3 separate regions of the Homo sapiens genome follow, and all the other regions are linked to region 1. Evidence: promoter capture Hi-C in 16 types of primary human blood cells and fetal thymus (Javierre and others, 2016). All regions are on one chromosome and are shown on one strand. Each heading gives the region's core, a stretch centred on a gene start or on the middle of the fragment in contact. The rest is flanking DNA. Distances are from core to core; before and after follow the strand shown.

Region 1 (4,586 bases), core at 869-3,368:
GATTATTTGAGCCCAGGAGATCAAGGCTGCAGTGAGCCTATGATCACGTGACTGCACTGTAGCCTGGGCAACAGAGCAAGACTCTTGCTAAAAAAAAAAAATTACCTTCATAAGGAATGGTGGCCCGAATTTGGATTGGTGAGGTGGAGATGGAGAAGAAAGGATTATTGGAAATGGGAGCAGAGGGAGAAAGGAAGGAGCTTAGAAAGGAAGAGGCCAAGTTTCCAGCTTGGATGACTGGGAGGCAAGTGGCACCTTTGATTAAAATAGATCATACAATGAGGAGGAGAAGATTTAGGTGACTTGATGAGCTCAGAGTTGCACTTGCTGAGTTTGAGGTGTCTCAAGCATCTCAGCGGCAGTGAGAGGTCCAGCAATCAATAGGTAGATGGAACTGAAGTTCAAGGGAGTAGCGAAAGCTGGGGATACGGATTCAGAACTCACCAGCCTGGAGATGGTATGTGAAACCATGAGATAACTTGATACCTCCCAGGGAGAGTTTATGACGTGAAAAGAAAAATGGGACCTAACCAGCATTCTTAGAGACAGGATCTTGTAGCAACAGAGCAGAAATCTCCAGGTAGAAACAGGAGAATCAAGAAAATATGAACATGCGGAGTCAAGGAAATGCAAGGTACCCGGAACAAGCAGTAGGCAAATCCAATCACAAAGGAGCAGAAACAAACTACCCAGTGGATTTGGCTATAAAGTTGTAGCTACATGGTTCAGATTGGAATGGAGAAGCCAGAAGAGGGATGGAGGAACTGACTTTGAAAAGGAGGAACATCGCCTTATCAGAAGTTGGAGGGGGAAGGGGTGGAGGATGGAGACCAGTATTTATATGTTTACAGGGGAAGGAGCAAGGTCAGGTGTTGTGGCCTAAATTGTTTTTGAAGTAGGGTACCAGATATCTGCTGAGAAAGGTGGTGTGAGTGGGTGATAATAGCTGCAGAGACCATTTAAGAGGAATGGGAAGGTTAAGAGTGGCCACTGGGGAGACTGGGATGGGCACCTGGCCAGACTGAATGGATCAGTAGGTGATTTAGTGGGCCCAGTTGTCACAAGTTCCACATTTTAGAGACTATTTATTCTCCAGTTGCTCTGGGAGTAGAGAAGGTGGCTTGTAGCACCTTTTCTTTTTCCAGGTTGAGGTTTTGTAGAAGGTGTTACCAATGCCAAGACCCTCCTGCTCCCTTGACTCCAGTTGCCTTGGCTCCTTAAGGAGTCCCAGAGTGACAGAGAAGAAGCAGTGGCCATTTTTTCTGCAAAAGCTTTGGCTCTTTTATGAAGTCCATGATTTCTACCATGTCATGAAAGCCAGGTCCAAGCCTGGAGTTAATAAGTCCAAGATCCTCTACAGCCTCTTCTCAGTCTCATGCCTTCCAATCTCTAGGGCAGCCTACATATCAAAAGGGATTTACAGGGGCTACTCTGGTGCTTCTTTTGTCCAAGAACCTTTGTCTGTCCTTTGCCATTCCAAAATCCATCATCACCAAATTAGCCATTCCAAAACTGCTCAGCATTAGAAATCCGGAGTTGGGTAGATTCTATGGACCAATAAATGGAATTTTTCGAAACATCCACACTCCCTTCTTTCCTTTCCTATGTGTCCTCTTAGTCTAACTGGCCCCAAGCTCAGTGGCCTTCAGACAGAAGCAGAAATGTTCCAAGATGATTAGCTAGGAACACAAGGTACAACTGAAAATCCATTGTGCAAACAAGTGCCTGTTTGATTTTCTCTTCACTTCCCTTTGGGTATTAAGCTTCCTTTCAATTCGTGTTTGGTTTCTGGTAATAAATATGGCACCAGTTTCATTGATTAATTATGAAGATTAAATGTGAGAAGTCAAGAACGCAAAGCAGTGCCCAGCATGTTCAGCATTCAGCACACAGCACTATTGTTTGTAGGAAGCATTCGCACAATGCTGAGACAGCTGGAAGGGTTGACATTGTGAGGGGAGGGCCCTTCTTTCACCATCCTTTGCGTAAATGGCTTATCTCACCTCCACTCAACAAGCCCAGTGTATGGCCTAGAACTCCCATCATACCTGTGCACCAATTGAGGAGAGACACATGGGTGGGAAATTGCAATAAAAAGACGGCCCACAGCAGGCTGCATTCCCATGGCTGGCCAGAGGAGGAACGCTTTGTGTTCTCATCGGAGGTAAGTCCTGCTTTAAGCCCCAGGAGGCTTCCTCCTAATCCTGGGAAATCTTGATCCACTGGACATGCTAGGATTCTTTGTTTCTGGAAATTTTTAGAACCCAGCAAGTAGTTTGGACCCTGGCCATTGTCAAGTGCTCCAGGTACCACTCTATGTCCAACTCAGTCATGCTTCCAGTCATCTGCGATGCTCCAGGCCTACGGACGCCACCCTCTTCCTTGTCCCAGATATTCCCACCAGGGAACTAGGTCTCTATTGGGATCTCATCTCTAAGAATCACCAATCCTGGGTGCTTCCCTATCCCTGCTGTCTCATAGCATACTCATGGTATCCCTGCCCGAAACCGATCTCTATTTTCCACTGAAGTCTTCCAGAGGTTGTAGGAAGTTATCCAAAGATTTGGCCATTTAGGGAAAGTATTTCCCAGAAAAGTAAATGCCATCCAAATGCTGGCAGGCTTTTTTGCAGCTCTTTCTTTCTGCCTCGCCACCGCCCCCAACCCCCATTGATTTATTTATTCATCCTTAATCCTCTACTGAGTACTCCTTGTGTGCCAGATTCTGTACTAGGAGCAAGGAACATGAGGCTCGGTTTGGCATGGTTCCACAGTCACAGAAATCTACATCCATAGAGGACATTTCAGGGGGCTCTTAGCAGCACCCAATGCATAAAACTAAGAAAGGGCAGCCATTACTTTTGTGTGCAGGTATTCACAGGTACCATATCCCTTTTTCTCTATCCAATCTCCAAAGAGCCTCTACTTCCACCTGAGCAGGGACCATCCTGAGACCTTTCTAGGACATTCTGCAGTACTAGCCAGCTCTAAGCTTGCCTTTGGTTTGCTTACTGTCAATTTTATCACCCATTATCTCGCTCTATCTGTCCATAAGTCACACCTACTTTGAAACAATGCAGCTCTTTATGAAGGAAGTCAACGGATCTGTTTCTAAGAACATAGACCTATGCCCTAATCTTATCTTGGTCTTTTCTTTCCCATAGCTGCATGGGAAGTCTGCATACAGCAAAGTGACCTGCATGCCTCACCTTATGGAAAGGATGGTGGGCTCTGGCCTCCTGTGGCTGGCCTTGGTCTCCTGCATTCTGACCCAGGCATCTGCAGTGCAGCGAGGTAAGTATTCTGCTCACCTGGCATCTCAGATGTCAAGGAAGACCTAGCAAGTGAGGATAGAAGTGCAGAGAAGGTGGCTCAGGTAAGGAAGAGGAATTGGCAGTTCTAAAGCAAAAACTCAGAGCTAGAAGTCAAGGGAAACATAATGAGAAACAATGGAAATCAAGTCACAATCTCTCAAAGAGCCTAATCAGAAATTCCTCTGAAAGGGCAGTGGGAGCCAGTTAACATAATTTCCCATGCCCATATCTTTGGGAGATTAGAGACCCCAGATTAAAGAAGATCAAGAAATACATAACTCAGTCACCTTGTGCTGGCAAGTGCCTTCTCCTTTTCCTGAAAGGGCTAGATTAAGTGATCTCTTTATGAAGTGGGCAATTCAGATACTTGCAGAAAGGAGTCTCAGGCTTAGAATTAGAGTGCAAATTTCAGCCCCTGGAGGAGGGTGGGAGAGGGTACTGAGCTCATTGGAGGCCTCCAGTGGAAAAATACAATCTAAGAATAACAAATGCAGTGATTCCTTGTCTTAAAATAAGTACATGCATGAGCAAAGTTTGAAAATCTTTTTTTCTGAAAGGCCCTTCTAATGTGTATTATAAGCATGTGCAAAGCTTGAAAATCTCTTTTTTTTAGAAAGCCCCTTTAATGTGTATTGTAAGCACATGATCCTGTGTGTGCACTTAGCTCCTTCTTCAGGCATCTACAGCATTCAACAAAATAGAACTAGAGAAGACAATTAGCTTGACCCTGGTGCTGTGCTTGGCATTTTACACATATTATCACATTTAATCCTCTAACAATCGTTTAAGGCTTTCTTTCCCCAAATGAGGTGTATATATTCCAAGATGGTTCTGGGGGTGCCTGGCAAACTCTTAACAAGTTTTTAATGGCTGTATGTTTATTTTTTATGCACATCTAAAAAATATAACTAGCACATGATATCTATGTTATCACAGATATTATTCTTTAAGATGAAACTAATTCTTAAAAGATAATCATTGAAAGAAACATTTTAAGTCAATAATAGGACAGGCAAACACATGTATGACAAAGGTCATGACCCAAAGCGTAGGAACGGATAAAGTTTGAGAACCACTGGTTCACAGGTGTGGTTTTGCCAATGAGTCTCAGGGGACTTAAGTCACCTGCCAAGGTCACCCAGCCAGCAGGTGTAGAATTGGATTTAAACTCAGCCTGACCAGCCTGTGGTCTTCCTCCTTCACTTCTCTGCCTCTTCATACATCACAGTTTCTAAAACTGTTTTTAAAAATGGTAGATCAACAATCAGAAATG
Region 2 (4,586 bases), core at 1,488-3,987, 320 kb after region 1:
GACCAAACTGGCTTTGTTTGCTCAGGGATTCTTCCCACTTGGTTTTCATTTTAATTTACTTTAACAATAGCTTTCCTTGGCATAACACCAAAAACCAGGGAGGAAAAGGAATGAAAAGACTTACAGACCTAATCATACAAACAGTTTAAACTCCTTCATGATAAAAGACATTGTCAATATATTTAAAGCAAGCATACTGTAAAAAACATGAACACACACACAAAATACTGAGTTCATGCCTGTATTAGCCCATTCTCATGATGCTATGGAGAAATACCCAACAGTGGGTAATTTATAAAGGAAAGAGGTTTAATTGACTCACAGTTCAGCATGGCTGGGGATACCTCAGGCAACTTACAAGCATGGTGGAAGGGGAAGTAAATACGTCCTTATTCACATGGCGGCAGCAAAAAGAAGTGCAAGCAAAAAGGGGGAAAAGCCCCTTATAAATCTACCAGATCTCATGAGAACTCACTATCACAAGAACAGCAAGAGGGAAACTGCCCCCATGATTCAATTACCTCCCACCCGGTCCCTCCCACATACGTGGGGATTATGGGAACTACAATTCAAGATGAGATTTGGGTGTGGACACAGCCAAACCTTATCCATACTCAATCTATAAAGAGTAGTTAAAAAGAAAAAAGAAAAAGAAGAACACCCCTGTAAAAATTTGCAAAGAATTTGAAGAGGCAATTTATAAAATAAGAACCACTAATGATAATAAACATCTGAAAACATATTAAAGCTTATTATTACTTCAAGAGATGCAAAGTAAAACAACATGAGGTTATTCTATCTTGCCAGATGTCACTGACACACAGTGTGAGTGAGAGTGTGGGGAAATGTGTACACTCGTACATACTACTAGTAGTAGTTTAAATTCACATAAACTTTTTAGAAGGGAAGTTAGCAATAGCTATTAATACACCTACCATTTGACTCAGCAATCCTAGTTCTAGGCATTTATCATGTTTTGAATTGTTGACAAACCATACAAATATATTTGAACAAAGGTATTGCAGCCTTGTTTGATAACAGTAAATTACTGGAACTGTTCTAAATGCTCATCAATAAGAAATGTATTAAATAAATTATTGTACCTCCGTAAAATGGAATACTATGAAGCTATTTGAAAATAATGAGTTAGATCTGTATGGACTCATGGCTAAGATATCTACCTTAGATTTTTAAGTGAAAATAGGAGGTATAGTATAATTCCATCTTGTTTTAAAAGAATTTTCACTATCTAAATTGTAAATATCTGATTTAATGAAGGTTTTTCAACGATTATTGCTATGGTTTGGATACCATGGTCAGTTGTAAGCCTCAATGTTGAAGGTGGGGCCTGGTGGGAGGTGATTGGAACTTTCACGAATGGTTTAGCACCATCCCCTTGGTGCTGTTCTCATGGGAGTGAGTGAGTGAGTTAATATGAGATCTGTTTAAGAGCATGTGGCACCTCCCCATTCTCTCTCTTCCTCCTGCTCCCTCCAGCCATGTAAGACATGCCTGCTTCCACTTCATCTTCTGCTGTGATTGTAAGTTTCCTGAGGCCTCCCCAGAAGCAGAAGCCACTGTGCTTCCTATACTGTGAACCGATTAAACCTCTTTTATTTATAAATTACCCAGTCTCAGGTATTTCTTCACAGCAGTGCAAGGATGAACTAATACAATTATACATCAATTTTATTATCAGAAAACAACATTTACACTTCATAAAATAAAACAAAAGGGTTTTCTTATAGGTGATTTATGCATAAGTATGAAAAGGAGGGTATTGAATCCTGGAATAAGTTCACATTACTCAGGAGAATACAAAATATTTTCTTCTGCAAACCTTAAGCCCAGTACTTAGTAGTTGTACTCATTAAATAGTTTGGGGATGAATAGATAAATAAATCAATGGATGGATGTATAGATGGATGGATGGATATTGAGGTCACAAAGGCAGTTTGTTGTTGTTGTTGTTTTAATTAGTGACCTAAATAATCCAAGATTGAAAGTCACTCTGAAGTAGCTGGTCCTCCAAAAATGTCAGGATTATTGGCTACCATGGATTTTGGAGTTTGGTCCTTACGCACAAACACCTGATGAGGGATCCAGATGATGTGGACAGACAAGGCTTACAAGAGCTCTGCTTAGCTTAAGACAAAACTCTCCCATACATGGGTTCCAAATAACCCCTAAGTGATGATCCCAGAACTAGCCTTCTGTGATTTATTCCTGTAGACATGAAGGAAATGAAGAAATGAATCAAGGAGACAGAAGGAGACCTTATGATATGAGAGATCATGCCTGGGGAAGCAACATTGTTTTTGGAAGATTAACTTTTCTTTTTGGTTTACACATATGCTGCTAGAGTTATAAAAGGAACTAACTGATGCCAATAGTATCCCCAAGTCCAGAAAAGGCTAAACTGTGTAACAAATATACCCCTGCCTCACCTTGCTATAAACACAGAAAGAGCTACCTTGAAAATGCTCCATTCATCCCAGTGTCTTACATTTTCCATGGCTTGCCTCCATGTATTCACGCAGGTCCCCTGTTCAATATTTCTGGGAGTCTCTGCGTGCATTTCATGCATCCTCAGCTGTCCAGCTATCATCTCCACGTGGAGTCCTCCCCATTCCTCCCCTCTTGTCCCGGGTCTTCCTTGTTGACATCTCTTGATTATGAAGAACTTCAGAGGATCTCATTGCTGCCATTCCTGACAAAAGCCACCATGAAAAGGCCACTGAGGGGCTAAAGCAGTGCCACATTCTAACCACAGGTAGAAACAGGTCCCTCTTCCAGGTCGGGTCACCTTGACACATGTTTGAAAAAAAGGGATAAATTTTATGTCTATGAATAGGCAATTCCTAGAAGAGGAAACCTGGATGGTGAATAAAAATAAAAACTATGTTCTAGTTCACTAAAAATCAGGAATGTGACTGAACATATCAGCAATTTTTACACCTATCAGATTTATAATCATTAAAAGAAACAGACAACCTCAAGTCTTGGGCAGATATGAAAAAGACAAGGGTGTTTGGTGGGAGTGAAAATGGTTATACCCACTATGAAGAGAAACTGGGAAATGTATTTTAAAATTGCCGATGCATTACCTCACAACCAAACGATTCTATTTCCAGGTGTGTCCTTTAGGAAAAAAATTCTCACACACATGCTCAAAGAGATGGGTATGACAATGTTTCTTGCATGATTGATGCATCAGCAAAAAGAAATTGGAAGCAATCTATATGTCCATCAATAGGAGAATGAATAAATAAATGGAATATGTCCAGGCATGGTGGCTCATGCCGGTAATCCTAGCACTTTGGGAGGCCAGGGCGGTGGATCACTTGAGGTCAGGAGTGCAAGACCAGCCTAGCCAATGTGGTGAAATGCCATCTCTACTAAAAGTACAAAAAAAAAAAAAAAAAAAAGTTGAAGGGTGTGGTGGCACGTGCCTGTAGTCCCAGCTATTCGGGAGGCTGAGGCAGGAGAATCACTTGAACCAGGAGGCAGAGGCTGCAGTAAGCCAACATCATACCACTCCTGCCTGGGTGACAGAGGAAGACTCTGTCTCAAAAAGAGAGAGAGATAATACTAGGACACAAAGCAAATGAATAGACTAAAGCCACATGTGTCACCATGGATGAACCTCAAAAAGGGAATATTGAAAGTTGAAGCCCATGTACAGTATGATTCCATTTATATAGTTTCCATACATGCATATATACATTTATAGAAATAGTATAAAAACATGAATAAAAATGTGCAATTCCAAATTTTTTATAGTGGTTACTTCCTGGACAAGAGGGAGAAATAAGAAGGGGACAAACACAAGGGACTGCAACTCTATCTGATGGGTTTTATTACTTTAGAAAATTCTGAAACACACAAGGCAAAGTGTCAAGAAATTTTACAGATGAGTATCCTTCCTGTTATCTCCTATGGGTTTCTGTGCCTTAAAATATGTTATAATGATATGGTAGATACACCATAAAGTAACACCAAAGTAAACCATGTTCTTACATAATTCCCTCCCCTCGAGTGCAGGTAGAACCTGTAACTTGATTCAAACCAATAGAATACGGCAAAGGCGATGGATGCCACTCTTGTGATTACTTTATATTATATAATTTTCTGCCTTAACTGACTAGAGTGAGAGACTCTTACAGGCTTGGAGAAATAAACTGCCTTGTTGTGAGAAGGCCAGATGGCAGAAAACCATGAGTGACCCTCTAAGACCTAATAGCCACCCCCAGCTGACACTCAACAAGAAGCCTGACCCTCAGTCATATAGCTACAAGGAAATGAATTCTGGCAGCAACCTCACTGAGTTTGGGATGGAATTTTTCCCCAGTCAAGACTCCAGATGAGAACACAGCCCAAGTATGGCCAACCCTTTAATTGCAGCCTTCACAGATGCTAGCAGAAGACCCAGGTAAGCTGTGCCTGCACTCCTGATCCACAGAAACTGAGATCATAAATGTGTGTTGTTTTAAGTCACTGTGTGGTAATTTGTTACACAATAGTAGAAAACTAATACAAATAAAATATTTATGAAAAGAAACAGGAATTCAGAGGAAAAACATAAA
Region 3 (4,586 bases), core at 1,166-3,665, 300 kb after region 1:
GTGGTCTTGAATTGGCTCTGGCACTCCTAGCTTCAGAATGACACTGTGGGAATAGAAGAGTATTGGATCCCATCCAAACTGTGGCCAGAGCTTCTTCAGGAAATCTCCAAACCCGCATAGCTGTGACCTCAAACCTGGGGTCTAAAAGGCAGTTTTCTATTTATCATTATGTATAGATTTTCTCTATCTCCTCCAAAACAAAGACCCTGCCTGGTGCGCAGGGGGAAAGGAGGAATTCTCGAGCCCAGAAAAACAAAAAAATAAGCCCACACTTGCCATTGTTTCAACCCATCCCTGTGTCAGCTGCATACGATCCCGTTACTCAAAATTGCTTCTTGTTATGGTATCACTCCAGCTTCCTAGAGAAGCCTTTTTACGTGTCAAGTTGCCAACCCTGCCTCCTTGCTTGCTGAGGCCCTCACCAAATTGTTTTATTTGAAGTGACTTCCGAACTGAATTTAATATTCAAGGGTCAGGAACTGCAGCTCTGCGGGTATGAGAGGAGGTGTTCTCAGCTCTGTCTCACAGCCCAGCTGGCGCTGCCATTTCGCCACAAACGCAGACACAAAAGGTGCCCATGCTGACGCCTCGTCTGCCCTTTGACGCACATGGCTCAAAAGGGGGTGCCAGTTCTTGGTAAAGCTATTTAACCCAGATCCTTTGTAAAATGATAAAATATAAGTGTGTTTATTTATTCTACCCTTGCCTGTCCAAGGCAAGAACATTTCTAGGATGTAATGAATAGGGGCATCCCTGGAAATTGCTACTTATGTGTGCAGCACACACACACACATGATTATATTCGTCTTATTTAGTGTTTCTTTTTTCTTCTTTTTTTTTTAACTTCTCCCTCAGATTCCCAGTATTCGAATTCATCCCTGTTTTGGAATAAATTTGCCAAACTGACTTTGAAATTGCATGACATTTTTGGTGACCAAAAAACGGCAGACAGTCCACCTGGAATATTTAGTTCCTCAGGCTGGATTTTTACTGCATTTTGTCCCTAAGTTGGAAGACATGTCTATCTTTTTTAAGGGAATTTGCAATAAATGAATGGGATAAGAAAAGGCCCCATGGCAACACAAACCCTAAACTTCAGCCAATGCTCTCAATACTAACTCAATACAAACTTAGGTCATATTAGTCCTGATGATCCTAATTCTTACCCCTTTTAAAGGATCGCAATAGAATCTCATCAGAGCCAAGGATTAGATTCTAAAGTCAGTGCAAAAGATAAAACCTTACAGAGCCAAAGTTACCTTTGCAAAAGATCCTCAAAAAAGAGCCATGTTGGAGATTATATTCCATTGCTTTCAAAACCTAACACAGCTAAGTTTTTCTCTAGCATTGGAACAAGTTGCTGTTTCTCTGGTTGATGACAAGACAGAATTGGCTCTCATTTAGGGACCATATTGTGTGATTCTAATGTATCTGAGAACATTAGGACCACCCTGGTGCATCAAGATGCTTCCACTCAAAGAAGTTCATGGAAGTCGTCTGACTGAGGGACAGATCTCCCATCTCCCACGCTCCCCAGGGCGTATGCTCATTGAGTGGAATGGTAAGCAGATTCCCTCACCTCCCTTAAATTGCATTTCTCTCTGTCTCTTTTTTGCCAAGCACGTGTAATTGAACATGTGTTCATTAAATGTGTGTGTGATGCAACGCCACTACACCCCCTTATGAATGGACATTGACCAAAGGCTACCTATACTGAATATATATATATATATATATTTATTTATTTATTTTTTAAACATGTAGCTCTGAAAAATGCTAGTTTGAGCTACACATGAATGAGTCAAAGTGCAATATCTACAAAGGTTAAGCAATTCCTTTTTGAGAATGTATATAAGATGGAAAATATGTATGTGACTCTCCATGCTCTCTGCTCCATATTTTTAATTGTGTGTAACAATTAATTGTTGATGTTTAAAAACTGGGTGTGCATTGGGAACATTTTCCTCAGACACTTTAATTTATTACTTCTCGATGATAGAGGCTCTACCACGTGGTATTGTGATCTCTTTTCCTCCGAATATATTTTATATTTTGCTACATGATATTTAAAAGAGGTCCAATTCTTGAAGGCACTGTAGTGAATTGCTGTCTTCTGCTTAAAATGCAAATGAATGCCCATTGGGTTAGGTTGATTCATATCTCTTAAAATTTATTTCAAACTATCTAAGGACTTTTATTATTATTTATAGTAATAATTATGGACATCATGAAATGGGTTTTTTTTAACTTTAAAACTTTAAAAACTTGTAAGCCTTTTCTTTCAGGCCAGTTTTGACAATAAAGCCTTGAACTTTGAAGCCTGTCATGTAAATGGCTGCTGCTGGTGGCACTAAAGCAATTGCCTTATCGTGGGTTTTTGTGGTGCCTCTTTCAAAGACAGTTAACTAGCTTCTCTCTTGCTATATGATTTGTGTCCTTGGTTGGACATTGCAATGATGATACGCACCACCATGCTGTGTCTTTTTATTGAACAACTTGACGGCTGAAATGTCTCATGGGGAAGGAAATGAGGGGAATGACAGACAAACCATAAAAGACAGACCGGAGTGGGCACGAACTTGTGTGTTGCAAACACCCTGCTATTGGAAAAGATCACTTTGCACATTTGGTACCTCCTGGTTCAACATGGGGAGCCTACCCGAAGTGAATAAAAGACTCTAATGTTGGCTATTCCAGTTCAGAGAATGGAATAGAAAGTTACCATAGAAAAAAAGCAAATGTTCATATTTTCTTAATTAGATTATATATTGTGTTTGGACTTGTTTGTATTATAATAAATTCTAATATGGTGCACACTTGGTGTTTGGTATTTGCATCTATGTTCAAGCAATTGCAGTATGCTGATTTTTATTACTATTATTTTTAATTGATAAATCATAATTGTATACATTTATGGGATACAATGTGATGTTTTGATATATGTATACAATGTGGAATAATTAAATCAAGCTAAATTAACACATCTGTCACTTCACTTATCATTTTTTTTGTGGTGAGAAATTTGAAATTTATTATCTGTTATTTTGAAACATACATTGTTACCGACTCCACTCACCCTGCTATGCAATAGATCTCAAAATTTATTTCTTCCATCTAACAAACTTTGTGCCCTTTGACAAACATCTCCCATTCCCTGCTTCTCACCTACTTCCAGCCTCTGGTAACCATCATTTTACTCTCTACTTCTATGAGTTTGACTCTTTTGGATTCCACATATAAGTGAAATCATATAGTATTTGTCTTTCTGTGCCTGGCTCATTTCACTAAGCATGATATCTTCCAAATTGCAGAATGCTGGTTTAAACATTTAACATTTAAGTGGACATCTTTCTTATACATTGTGCTGGGTGCTAGAATAAAACCAGAGTTCCATCTGTCTCCTGGTTAGCAGATATAGTTCAGAATTTAAGACCACTGAACTGTGCTCCCTACAATCCTCATTTAGGTAGTTTACTGGGTATAAATCTGAATTCTCTGCTGATCACATCCTCTGTACATCTTTGAGACAGTGAAGGATGATTTTTTAATAATCATAACTGGAAATCCAGCATCATGTCTAAGAGCTTGGGCTTTGATGTCAGACAGTCACGAGTTCATGTCCCAGCTCCCCCATTTACTAGATGAATGGCCTTGAGCAAGTCCTTGGAGATTTCCTAAGGACTTTCCTCATCTAGAAAACGGTGCATAATTTAAATTTTTTCCAGTTGTCTTCAAGGTATGTAGAAACTCTTATAGTCAGGAACCCAAGATTTGGAGTCAGTTATTACAGGCTATAACTTTCCTGGCTATGTGAACTTGAGCAATGTTCTCAATCTCTCTCTCTCTGAGTCTCAATTTTCTCTCCATAAAATGGAGCTAATTATAATTCCAGTAGGTAACTTATAAAGTGATTATTAGTAGCAGAGTTTTTTAAAAAGCCTCCAATTGTACATCATTTTATAGGTGAGGATGCTAGGCCCAAAGAGGTCAATGATCTGGGCCTGAATGGAACCCAGGTCACTCAACACTCCATCCTTTTCACTTCACCTCATTATCTTCTTTGCAAAATTCTAAGTCATTCCCCCAAAACATCACATTGGTTTTATGCCCATTTTAGAGTTGGGTGCATTGCATAATTTTGCAACTCTTCAAACCCAGATCATTCAGGCATGATATATATTATAACAGCCTCATAATTAAAACTCTCAGCTTGACCTTTCCTTGTGAGTAGAACTTTTTTTAATTGACTCTATGTGGAATCCTAACCATAGCTCTCAAACTTGCTATGCATTTTCCCACACAAACCACCATCAATTCTGACAGCCACCCACAAACTATTGTCACAATCCATCTTTGCATCAACTTGGAGAATAAAAGTGACTTAGGAGTTGAGGGGGAAGTGCAGAAAAGCAAAGAATTTGCTGAAAGGGTGGCAAACAGAAGCTCTTGGGCATGGCCACAGCAGCCTCATTAATTTTGTTCTCCAATTCAGGGAGGCAGGACAAAGGAGAGTTGAAGGAGGTTGAACCATTAAATAATAATCCTTTTATTAGTGCACTCAGCTAAATGTGATAGTCCGGCCTCTT

What was found. The method cuts DNA at HindIII sites, captures the fragments that hold promoters and counts their contacts. A CHiCAGO score of 5 or more calls a contact.
Region 2: a contact is called between a fragment that was not itself captured here and the fragment with the promoter of GP2 in region 1, in 3 of 17 cell types (M2 macrophages, endothelial precursors and M1 macrophages). The highest score is 6.5, in M2 macrophages.
Region 3: a contact is called between a fragment that was not itself captured here and the fragment with the promoter of GP2 in region 1, in 2 of 17 cell types (M2 macrophages and endothelial precursors). The highest score is 6.2, in M2 macrophages.

What each region holds. Positions count from the first base shown.
Region 1 is chr16:20,325,045-20,329,630 of GRCh38, reverse strand. GP2 (glycoprotein 2) reads left to right here and starts at 2,118. Exons shown (of 11, transcript NM_001502.4): 1 at 2,118-2,164; 2 at 3,164-3,293. The coding sequence starts at 3,200. The HindIII fragment of the contact is 1,228 bases long and covers 1,766-2,993 here.
Region 2 is chr16:20,009,667-20,014,252 of GRCh38, reverse strand. No RefSeq gene overlaps it. Among named protein-coding and RNA genes, the nearest start is that of GPR139, 62 kb to the left of the region's middle. The HindIII fragment of the contact is 3,974 bases long and covers 751-4,586 here.
Region 3 is chr16:20,026,636-20,031,221 of GRCh38, reverse strand. GPR139 (G protein-coupled receptor 139) reads left to right here. Exons shown (of 2, transcript NM_001002911.4): 2 at 1-2,983. Among named protein-coding and RNA genes, the nearest start is that of GPR139, 45 kb to the left of the region's middle. The HindIII fragment of the contact is 5,491 bases long and covers 1-4,586 here.